Regions from separate parts of the Homo sapiens genome. Here regions 1, 2 and 3 are each linked to region 4. The links are contacts of gene promoters, found by promoter capture Hi-C in blood cells and fetal thymus (Javierre and others, 2016). All regions are on one chromosome and are shown on one strand. The core of a region is centred on a gene start or on the middle of the fragment in contact, and the rest is flanking DNA. Distances in the headings are between cores, read along the strand shown.

Evidence for each region. Contacts are between HindIII fragments. The CHiCAGO score rates a contact against its expected background, and 5 or more counts as called.
Region 1: a contact is called between a fragment that was not itself captured here and the fragment with the promoter of CNBD2 in region 4, in 3 of 17 cell types (M1 macrophages, megakaryocytes and endothelial precursors). The highest score is 5.8, in M1 macrophages.
Region 2: a contact is called between a fragment that was not itself captured here and the fragment with the promoter of CNBD2 in region 4, in 1 of 17 cell types (endothelial precursors). The highest score is 5.4, in endothelial precursors.
Region 3: a fragment that was not itself captured here is called in contact with the fragment with the promoter of CNBD2 in region 4 in 1 of 17 cell types (endothelial precursors); the score reaches 5.9 in endothelial precursors.

Annotation. Positions count from the first base shown.
Region 1 is chr20:36,143,415-36,146,510 of GRCh38, reverse strand. It overlaps a transcript of EPB41L1 not described here. Among named protein-coding and RNA genes, the nearest start is that of EPB41L1, 9.8 kb to the left of the region's middle. The HindIII fragment of the contact is 6,985 bases long and covers 1-3,096 here.
Region 2 is chr20:36,160,665-36,163,365 of GRCh38, reverse strand. The region is part of intron 1 of EPB41L1 (erythrocyte membrane protein band 4.1 like 1); the gene reads right to left. Among named protein-coding and RNA genes, the nearest start is that of EPB41L1-AS1, 6.3 kb to the right of the region's middle. The HindIII fragment of the contact is 1,362 bases long and covers 609-1,970 here.
Region 3 is chr20:36,194,816-36,197,515 of GRCh38, reverse strand. It overlaps EPB41L1 (erythrocyte membrane protein band 4.1 like 1), which reads right to left. Exons shown (of 22, transcript NM_012156.2): 13 at 2,152-2,187. It overlaps LOC124904892 (a long non-coding RNA gene), which reads left to right and starts at 571. Exons shown (of 3, transcript XR_007067571.1): 1 at 571-834. The HindIII fragment of the contact is 1,133 bases long and covers 842-1,974 here.
Region 4 is chr20:35,967,175-35,969,883 of GRCh38, reverse strand. CNBD2 (cyclic nucleotide binding domain containing 2) reads right to left here and starts at 1,294. Exons shown (of 12, transcript NM_001365709.1): 1 at 1,071-1,294. The coding sequence starts at 1,121. It also overlaps the pseudogene LOC124904982. The HindIII fragment of the contact is 7,355 bases long and covers 764-2,709 here.

The DNA of each region.
Region 1 (3,096 bases), core at 154-2,653, 180 kb before region 4:
CAGAGAAGTCGTCTGTGTATGTAAACACAGCCTTCTGCTTAGGCAGCTCCTGCCGGACTCCCCTCGCCAACTGGGCCCTCTGTGGCTTTTATCTCCCTGCCTAAAATAACCATTGGCTTCAGTGGTTCTCTGGGCATGAATCAGACTCTCGTAGAAGCCTGTGAGCAGCTTGAGGACAGGGAAGTTATGGTACCGATCTCTGTATCCCCAGTGTGCCAGTACAAAGGTTTGTGGGATTTGTCGAACTCCTCTGTGTACCTGGAGGGACCTACAGTAGGAAGCAAGAGCTCTCTACAGAAAACAGTCACATCCTCCAAAAGCTCACAGTTTAGTAAGAGAAAGTACCCACACCAGCCAACTGCAATGTAAAACAGAAAGCACTAAAGGTTGTAAGAAGAGGACAGAGTGTTGGGGAGTTCAGAGGAGAAAAAGATTAGAGAGCAGCAGGTGTCAAAGGAGGTTTCGAGGAAGAGGTCATATGTGGGTTGGGCATTAAAGGCAGGGCAGAAGGACAATGTAGACTGAGGAGAGAGCATAACACAAGCCATAGTGCTGGGAATTACAAGGTAGAATCAGGAAACGCTGCATATGACCTGGAGCCTGGGATACTGAGGGTTGAGGCTATCCCTGAGGAGATAGAAAGGAGCTGGTGCCAAGCAGAGCCTTGAATGACAAACCAAGTGCACTGCACTGTCTAGCAACTGGCCAAATGTGATTATTTAAATTTAAATTTAATGGAACAAAATGTAAAACTCATAGCCACATGTGGTTAGTGGTTACCATACTGGACGGTGCAGATGTAGAACATTTCATCACTACAGACATTTCTAGTGGACAGCAATGGTGGATAGTGTCAGAGGATCCAGAGAGCTTTGAGCAGAGGCATAATTAGAGCTGGGCTTTAGGAAAATTAATTTGCTCCTGGTGAAGACTCAGTGACCGGAGTGAAGGAGAAGCCTGGAACCACAGTGGGACATTGCAATAATCCAGGTGAGATCAGTCACCACTTCTTTTCCCTCTGTTCATCTCTTCCTATCAGGAAACAGGGATGATTCTAAAGTGTGGTCCCTGGAACACCAGCAATATCTGGGAACTCTTTTTTTTTTTTTTTTTTTGAGATGGAGTCTCCCTCTGTCGCCCAGGCTGGAGTGCAGTGGTGTGATCGCAATCTCAGCTCACTGCAACCTTCACCTCCCAGGTTCAAGCAATTCTCCGCCTCAGCCTCCCAAGTAGCTGGGATTACAGGCACCCACCACCACAACCGGCTAATTTTTTTGTATTTTTAGTAGAGACGGGGGTTTCATCATCTTGTCCAGGCTGGTCTTGAACTCCTGACCTCGTGATCCACCGCACCCAGCCTTATCTGGGAACTCTTAAGTACACAAATCCTCAGGCCCCACACAGACCTACTGAGTCAGAAACTAGGAGGTTTGGAACAGCAACAGTGCTTTCATCAGCCCTCCTGTGATTCTAACGCACACTGGAGTTTCAGGTCTGCCAGCATAGAGGCTAGGAGCCTACACTTTGGCTCCAGAGTGATGTATACTCTGGAGTCAGAGGACCTGACTTCATATCCTGGCTCAGTTGTTTCCTAGATGTGCTTAATCTATTTGTGCCTCAGTTTCCTTATAATAACCATATGGAGTTATTATAAGGATTAATGGAGCTAATACATGTAAATATCTTAGAAGAGTGTCTAACTTATAGTAAGTATTCAATAAATGTTACTTATCAGTCCTATTATTCACTCCTATGGCAGTTTAATTCCTCCCATATACAATGAGACAGCATCTGTCTCTTGCCACTAGCTATGACCTCCTGCCTTTCCATCATATAATATTCCCAGGCCCACTCAGCCATTCTATTTCCTGTCCTCCAGGACCCGAGGGTCAGTTCCTTTCCCACAAGGCAGAGGCACTTCCTGTATCAGAGAGTGTCCCACCAGGATAAGAATGTCAACAGACAGATTTAACTGTCCTGGGCAAAGATGCCCTCTAAAGGAATGAGTCAGGAGATGCCCCATGGGTTTTCCCCTGGGAGTGGGAAGGTCTGGAGGTGAGGGCTCAGCTGCCCACTGTGATTGAAAGCCTCAAGCCTGTTCAGTTGGATCCATGCCAGCCAAGAGGGTATGGAAAATGGTACTGTGATCCTGCCTACTGTAGGTAGCTAGACCCTGGCTCAAGGAACCAGGCAGGGGAGGGTGGCGTCCTGTGTGGCAGAGGGCGCTGGGCTGGGCATCAAGAAACCTTGATTTGACCTTTGCTGTGAGATCTTGGGCAGTCATTTTCCTCTCTGAATTCAATTTCCTTACCTGTAATATGAGGGGGTTGGACTAGCGCAGTTCTAAACCTTTTAGGGGGCTGGGCGCAGTGGCTGACGCCTGTAATTCTTACACTCTGGGAGGCCGAGGCGGGCAGATCACCTGAGGTCAGGAGTTTGAGACTAGCCTGGCCAACATGGTGAAACCCCATCTCTACTAAAAATACAAAAATTAGCCAGGGATGGTGGCGTGCGCCTGTAGTCCCAGCTACTTGGGAGGCTGAGGCAGGAGAATCACTTGAACCCGGGAGGCAGAGGTTGCAGTGAGCCAAAATCGCGCCACTGCACTCCAGCCTGGGCAACAGAGCGAGACACTGTCTCAAAAAAAAGAAAAAAGAAAAAAAAAGAAAAAGAAAAAGAAAACCTTTTATCGGTCCTGATTTCCTTTGAAAATGCAATGAAAACTGCAGAGCTTCTCCTAGAAAAATGTACATGGGTATGCACCTGCACACACATACACACACACAAAGTCACACTCACACACACACATACCTACCTTTATCATCTTTCAGGTATCAAGAGAGCTCATGAAGCCCATGCATAGATCACCCCCTGAGTGATAGATAGATAATCCCCTTGGTTAAGACTTGGGCTAGATGATCTCTAATCAGCCACGATAAGAAATTAGCTGTATATGTGTGTATTTTGTATTTTGTATCTAATTTAAAGGAACCCTACATTAAAGACTTCACTAAGACGATGAGCTTTTATGTGGGCTTTTGTGGGACATAGATGTTGATTGGCTAAATGCTGTGCTTCCCCAGAGCCTGCCTCACC
Region 2 (2,701 bases), core at 40-2,539, 190 kb before region 4:
AATGGAATCAGATCATGCCTGTAAAACACTAAACACATACCAGAATATTAGAAATATTTGCTCCAGAAATATTACTCTCCAATTAAGTCCAAAGACTAAAATGTTAACAATAGCCTTCCCTTGGAGAAGGAAATAGGGGCCTTTTTCTCCGTATTTTTCAATTTTCTACTATGAGCATGTATTACTTTCGGAGTCAGAAAAGAAAAAAGAAGAATTACAAGAAAAAAAAAAAAAAACAGAAAGAGTGCCTATTAGGGCTTATTCTTTCTCTCACTTGCTGGAGATGATGTGACTTCCTTCCCAAGGGGACTTCCCCAGTATGGAACACTCACTTCCCTGAGTGATAATGTCTACATGGACGTGAATGAAAGGATGGAGGGTACAGGCTGAGAGAGCTGCCTCTGAGACCTCAAGCCACTTTCACAGCCAGGCAAGAAGGATCAAAAAGGGAGCTGAGTCTGCAGTCATCCTGTCTGGTGCTTGGATTTGTACATGGCAGTGGGGAGACGGCAATTCGTCAGAGGTTTGCAGTACCCACGGACACCACTTTAGACCAAACAATGTGAAAAGGCCACCACCCATCAGCCTTGGCTTCTTGCCCAAAAGCTTCACGGGCCACTAGGGAGCCTCAGGCTGATGTGCAGTGGTGGGCTGGGGACCACGTGACAGCACAGAACTGCAGAGTAACAGCATTAAAACGGAGACATGCGTCCCACCTGGCCCATCCTGATGACGATGCAGAAGGCAGAGAGAGACCTCCCGTTAGCAGGGTATCCTCCGAGAGCTGGGCAACATGCTGGCTGTCTTTTGGGCTTTATCTTATTTGAGCTGCACAAGGGCCACACGGAGTAGGTGAGCTTATTTCCCAGGCGGCTTAGTGGCCAAGGCCACATGGCTAGTCAGTTTCAAGGAGAGCCAGGACTAGGACTCAAGTCTGCTGGCTCACAGTCCAGTGCTCTCCCCACTCAATGCTGCTACATCCCACGACCTCCAACTTGCTGTAAGCCATATAACCAAAGCTACTGTTGCTCTGGATGTAGAAATAATAACGGCAGTATCAATCCCTCCCACATGCAGGGCACTTTACAACTTAAAGGATCTTTTTATAATCATTTTGCTTGGACCTCACCAATTAGCCACTGTTGAGAGTGGGCAGGAAACAGCAGTTACAGACATGGGCTTATGAGCCAGAGCTGGAATCCTGATGCCACAGGCTTGGTGACCTTGGGCAGGTTACTTAACCTCTATTGAGAAGACTATCCCCTGCACCTCCAAGGTGTATAGTGAGAATTAAATGAGATAGGCAGGGTGTGGTGGCTCACGCCTGTAATCTCAGCACTTTGGAAGGCCAAGGAGGGAGGATTGCTTGAGCCCAGGAGTTTGAGAGCAGTCTGGGCAACAGAGCGAGACACTGTCTTTACCCTGTGCCCCCCCCAAATTAGCCGGGCATGGTGGGGTGCACCTGTAGTCCCAGCTACTCAGGAGGCTGAGGCAGGAGGATCACTAGAGCCTGGGAGTTTGAGGTCACAGTGAGCTGTGACTATGCCACTGCACTCCAGCCTGGGTGACAGAGTGACAGGCTGTCTTTAAAAAAACAAGAATAACGACTGGGCCTGTAATCCCAGCACTTTGGGAGGCTGAGGCAGGCAGATCACCTGAGGTCAGGAGTTCGAGACCAGCCTGGCCAACACAGTGATAACCTGTCTCTACTAAAAATACAAGAACTAGCCAGGCAGGTGGCACGTGCCTGTAATCCCAGCTACTTGGGAGGCCAAGGCAGGAGAATTGCTTGAACCGGGGAGGCGGAGGTTGCAGTGAGCTGAGATCCTGCCACTGCACTCCAGCCTGGGCAACACAGCAAGACTCCATCTCAAAAACAAAACAAAAAAACCCAAAAAACAAACAAACAAAAAAATAAGAAGAATAAAATAAAAAGAAAAAATAGAAAAACAGATAATGCACATGAAGCTTGCTCTAGCACAGTATTTGACATATAGAAGACACTCAGTGGCAGCAATGGCTCTGATCACCACCAGACAGATGGACAAACTGAGGTACAGAGAAGGTAGAAAGCTTGTCCAAGGACAGTCTGGGTGTGGGCAGCTGCACAGCCCAAGCAGCAGCTTAGAGCATCCTAAGAGAATTTGAAAATTTCCTAGGAGAGCTCCATACTGGGTGGGTGAAAGAAAGGGTCTTTCCCTGGGACATCACCACCTTTTGAGGGTGACAGAGAGATGGCCTCCTCCAAGACCAGTTCCCCCAGGCTCCAGTGAGGAGAGGAGGGAACAGGAGAAGGGAGAAGCAGCAGACCTTTGAGGGCAACTCTCACGGTCTCATGGTTTCTGACTCCTTCTCTCACTTGATTTTCACTAATTGTCTAAATACTGTTAGAGTTCAGTTAGCGTTACTTAGAATACCGTAAAATTGGAAACAACTTCAAATGTCAATCAACAGGGGGGCTGGCCAAATTAGTAGGGTTTATCCATTAAAAATTTAATTATGAAAGTATAACATACCTATTGCAAAAATTTTTGAGATAGATTTTATATCTACTGACATAAAAAGATGTCAATGTGTAGTTACATGAAAAATGCAAGTTGTAAAACAATAATGCAATGTATGATCCCATTCTGGTTTGTATGTTTATGTTGGTATAGAAAATATCCTGGAAGGATACACAACATGCTGTTATTAGCTACGA
Region 3 (2,700 bases), core at 159-2,658, 230 kb before region 4:
GTCTTAGTCACAGAGGTGACTTCCCTCTGTTACAACTAAGGCATAGCAGGCAGCAACTGCCAGAGAGCTATAATAACTCACTAATCCTATTCACTGGGCTGCTCTGACTCATTCAGGTGCCTCCTAGATCCCTCCTGGATCCCAGTGTCCACTTTCTGGCTGAGACTTGGGCCACTGTACTTAACAGGATGTCCAGTCTGGGCCCCTCCTAGCCCAACATGCACAACTGCTCAGGCCCTGGGGAGGCCCACAGTACAGATCCTCCTCAAGCCAGGGACATCCAGAAGAATGGCCAAGCTCCCACACTAGGGACCAGGGGCAGGAAAAAATTGCATCTAGTCTCCTCTGTGATGGGACACTACCTTCCCCAACCACCCTGGACCTTCCAGATACCTTTCAGGTACTGACTCACCAATAGCAGACAGGGTGAGATACAGCCAGATAGAGAAACTAGAATGCTGTGGAGTGTTCAGGAAGATTAGGAGAATTAGAGACCAGGAAGAAGAGCAGTAAGTCCCACAGCTGGGCACAAGAATTGAGCCAGGTATAGCCAGAGTTGTAGGATTCTACCTATATGGGTAGTGTTCCCAGCCAGTGCAGCATGACAGAGTCATCTCCTTAGGTCAAGGGAGGACGAGCTTTGTGCAGGAGCTGGCAGGGACCTGCCAAAAGCTGTTTATCTGGCTACTTCTGGGGCAAAGTGGTGGCTGGCAGCCCAAGGACGCTTATCTGCAAGGCTGCTTAAAAATTCATGTTAACTCAATTCAGGACAAGAAATGGACAATCTCAGCTTATTAAAGTCAGATCAGGTAATTCTGGAAGAACCACTGGAAGGTAAGCTTACCCTTGGACAAAGCTAGAATCTTCCCCTGGGCTCATCTCTGGTACCCAAGGATCCACTATGGCTGACTCCTAAGCTACCTCAGGAAGGAAACCAATCCCAGTGAGGCTCCTGCTTTCCCTCCAGACATCTGTCTGTTCCTCGGGCATCCCTTCCCAAGCTGAGCTGCCCTCTGGACCATGGCTGTCTGAGAAGTCAAACCTGATGGTGCTTGCACAGGGAGAGGGTTTGGGCTGCAATGGGTAGTGAGTCCCAACCTGAGATGTGGCTTGTCGTCTTCCATCACAAACCTGCCCCACTGCCTCCGTGGGTGTGTTATGTCCCTGAAGGCTGTAGGGAGCAGTGGGATCCTGGGGTCCTGGGATCCCTAAAGGTTAAGGGCATTGGAGAAACCTAGTCTGAATGCTTTGCTGTTCAGACAGGGGACTGGGGCCTGAGGGGAATTTCCCAAGACCTTCAAAGAGTTGGTGGCAGAAGTGGGGTTGAAACCCAGATCTCAGGACTCCAAGGCAAGGCTCTTCTTATGTCCCAGTCTCTGGCCCTTTACCTTGGCAGCCCAAGAATAAACCCACTTCTCTTGCAGTTAAAGTTCAGATGAAGAGTTGGTGACTGTGTGAGAGGGAAGAAGTGGTTAACATGGAAGGAATAATTTGGGGGAAGCAACAAATGGGAAGAAGACGAGGAAAGGAGGAGAAAAGGAGGAGGTTTTTGCCATAGCGGAGCAGTAGTCGACCCTGCCTGGGGGAGGTGTAGGACTGGAGTTGGGGCAGATGCAGGTGTGCTCTGAGGCACCTCCCTCCCCCACCCCCAATCCCCACTCCCACATCTGACTGCCAATAGATACAAAAAGAAGCTAGGGGTGAGGACACAGGGGACACAGACGAGATGGAGGCGAGACCAAACAGTGCTGTCGGGCAGGAGATGAATCTAGGGAAGGGGTGGGTCAGGGGAGATGTGCTAAATGAAAGCACAGAATGGCCTGGAAGAGCTGGTGGTGCAGGTGGGATGGTCAGCAGGTGAGCTGCAAGTATGGAGGACCGGGTGAGCTGGGGAGAGGGTGGGAGGGCTGAGGGAGGAGGGAGAGATGGCCGATTGGCCAGGAGAGTCTAAGAAGGGAGCTGGAGAGAGAAGCTTAGCGGGTGGCGGAGTGGGGAGCAAGGACGGCTGCAGAGGGGGATGGCTGGGGAGCAGAGATGAAGTTGAAGCTGAGATGGTGCCAGGGAAGTGAGCCTGGGATGGACTGTGGGATGGTGACAAATGAGCTAGGGATGGGAACGGCTGGGTAGGGAGGGACAGGTCCCATGCAGTACCTCCTGCTTGTGTCTCGGCGTGGTTTCCTGCTCCGGCTAGTGGGATGTGGTAGGAGGGAAAGAAAGCAGCAGGGTCAGTAGAGCAGATGGATTAGAGATACCACGATGGGCTTGGTCCAGCAAGGAGCCCAGAGCACGCACACTCGACCAAGTGGAGGCCAGGGCAGCTGGGTGGGCCACCAGCAGGGCAGTGAGGTAGTCAGAAGAAGGTACAGGTGTGAAGCAGGGTGCTGTCCCAGGAAGGCAGAGAAGGGAACTAGAGGCCAAGTGGGCAGAGCCACACTGGGCAGATGGGATGTGAGAATGGAGTTCCCTGCTCTCGCTGTCAGTGGGAGCATGTTCAAGGCCCTGTGCTCACAAGGTAGACGGAAAGAAACCTGCTGAACAACTATACCAAGAGGAAGCTCTCCCTGGCCTGTGTGTGCACACACCTGTGTGTGTGCATGTTGTTTGCACATCTGTGTGCATGGATCTAAGGGTGACGGGTGCATACATCTGTTATTAAGTGAGTGTGAGGCTGAGGTCATGCAATCCTGCATGAGCGTGTAC
Region 4 (2,709 bases), core at 45-2,544:
ATTTGGCAACATTATATAAAGTTGAGGATGTGTGTACTTCACAATGGAAGAATTGTATGTACTTTATATGTCCTCTTCAGAGAAACATACATGTACAAGGGGATAGCCATGAGGGTAATCATGGCAACATTGTGTGTAACAGTGAATGGCTGAAAACAAATGTTCATTAGTAGGGATCGAAGGGATCAATACATTATGGTTCAGTCACAGGATTGAACACAGCACTAAGTCTGTGTGTGTCAATGTGGATAAAGCTGAAATGATTTTGAGTGGGAAAAAAGAACTATGATGCTATTTATGGTATCATTTTTAAACAGTGTGCCACATACTATATATTGTTTATGGATACATACACATGTGATAATATATAAAAATATAAACAGGAAGGGTGACACCAACTTCAGGAAAGTGGTTACTATTAAAGAGAAATAAAGGGGCATGGGATGGTAAAGAGCTTTCCCTACACCTGTAATGTTCTATTTCTTAAAAATTAGATATCTATGGAAATATGGGGAAAGGTACTTTATGAATAAAATTAATACTTACTGAGTACAATTTACTATTGTCAGGCATTATCCAAAGCACTATTCTGATATGTAAATCATTTAATCAGTAAATTTATGCAGTAGGTACTAGTATTATCATCTCACTTTACAGAGGAGAAAATAAAGGCACAGCAAACCAAGCAACTTGCCTGGGGTCACATGACTAATAGGTGATAGGGATTTAAACCTAGGTAGTCTGGCTCCAGAGTTCACAAGCTTAACCTATGACTCAATGTTGCTACCCTGACTCTATCCTCCCTCGTTCTCTCTGGATCTCATAATAGCAGGAAGAGTGGGTACAGAACAGGACTCAGTGGCTCTGAGTGTGGCTTATGGCTTGCCCAGTGTGGGGGGCTGGTAGGCTACAGGGCAGGGGTCCCTCCTTTGTGCCATGCTGTGACTCCAAAAGGTACAGGATGGCCACCATTCATCCAAGACCCCTCCTACACCTGCATCGACCTTCCTCAAAACACCTGTCTGTTCAGTCTTCTGCTCTTCCCTCCCAGGGCCCTTGCCCCTCCTCACCAGTTCCTTCTTCAGGAGCTGCCAGGCATAAGTTACCATATGTCTCCTCATGGTTCCTGTGCAGGCAAATGGCACAACTAGCCCCTTTGCCTTTCAAGGGGAGGACTACAAATTTTTCCCCAAAAATCCAGTAATACTAGAAACAAATAGATTTCCTCAGTAACAAGGCAAGAGCTCCACTCCACTCCTCCTACCATACCATCAGCTACTGGAAGCCCTGCTCTGAGAAAAATCATTCTCAGAATCTCCTAAGGTCACAATGAAAGATTCTGGAGGCAGGGGACACAGGGATTGGAATGTGGGAGTCTAACATTTATGGGATACTCACAGGCATTATCTCAGCTAATCCTCACAACCACCCAAACTTTTACTCAACTCCATACATAGGAGACTGGGGCTCAAAGTAGCTAAATGGCTGCCAGAGTCCTGGTGAGACAGGAGAATGGCACAACCCTGCTGACCAAAACAGGATCTAGGACCCCCTAGCTGTCCCCATCCCTCATTAACATAAGACACTCCTACCAGTGCCATGACAGTGTACAAATGTCTTGGCAATGACCAGGAAGTTGCTACCTCTTTCCTAGAAAACTCTAAAAACCCACTCCTTAATTTGCATTAACCTGCCCCTTAATTTGCATTAGCCTGCCCCTTAATTTGCATGTGATTGAAAGTGGGTAGGAATGCGTATACTACACTTGATCTCAGCCAAAAGGCTGAGAAGGGATTAGAGATGAGCATAAATACAGTTGCCAACATCTCATACACTGGGTATCGACTCCGGATTCATTGCCCATGAGTTAGCCCTGCCCCACAAGGAGAAGCACTATTCAATAAAAGATTGCTGTCTAACACCACTGGCTCACCCTTGAATTCCTTCCTTGGGCAAAGCCAAGAACTCTCCTAAGCTAAGTCTCAATTTGGGGGCTCACCTGTCCTGCAAAGATAGGGCTTTTTTGTTTTTTGAGACACTGTCTCACTTTGTTCCCAGGATGGAGTGCAGTGGCCCAATCTCAGCTCACTGCAACCTCTGCCTCCCAAATTCAAGTGATTCTCCTGCCTCAGCCGCCCAAGTAGCTAGGATTACAGGCGTGTGCCACCATGCCCGGCTGATTTTTGTATTTTTAGTAAAGACAGGCTTTCACCACGTTGCCCAGGCTGGTCTCAAGCTCCTGACCTCAAGTGATCCACCCACCTCAGCCTCCCAAAGTGCCGGGATTACAGGCATAAACCACCACTCCTGGCCAGGGCCTTTTTTTTTTTTTTTTTTTTAAGAAAGCAGTGTAGCTAAATGTCAGGTACACTTGCTCTCCATTTGTAGCATCCAATTAACAGAAGCAAGGTCTGGTCCAGCCTGGCCAATGTGGTGAAACCCCATCCCTACTAAAAATACAAAAAAATTAGCCGGGTGAGGTGGTGGGCACCTATAATCCCAGCTACTCGGGAGGCTGAGGTGGGAGGATCACTTGAACCCGGGAGGCAGAGGTTGCAGTCAGCCAAGATTGTGCCACTGCACTCCAGCCTGAACGACAGAGCAAGACTCTGTCTCAAAAAAAAAAAAAAAAAAAAAAAAAAAAGCGGGAGGGGGAATTGGCATAAATGGCATGCAGAGGAGGGAATGAGCAGGTGGGAGTCTCCATGA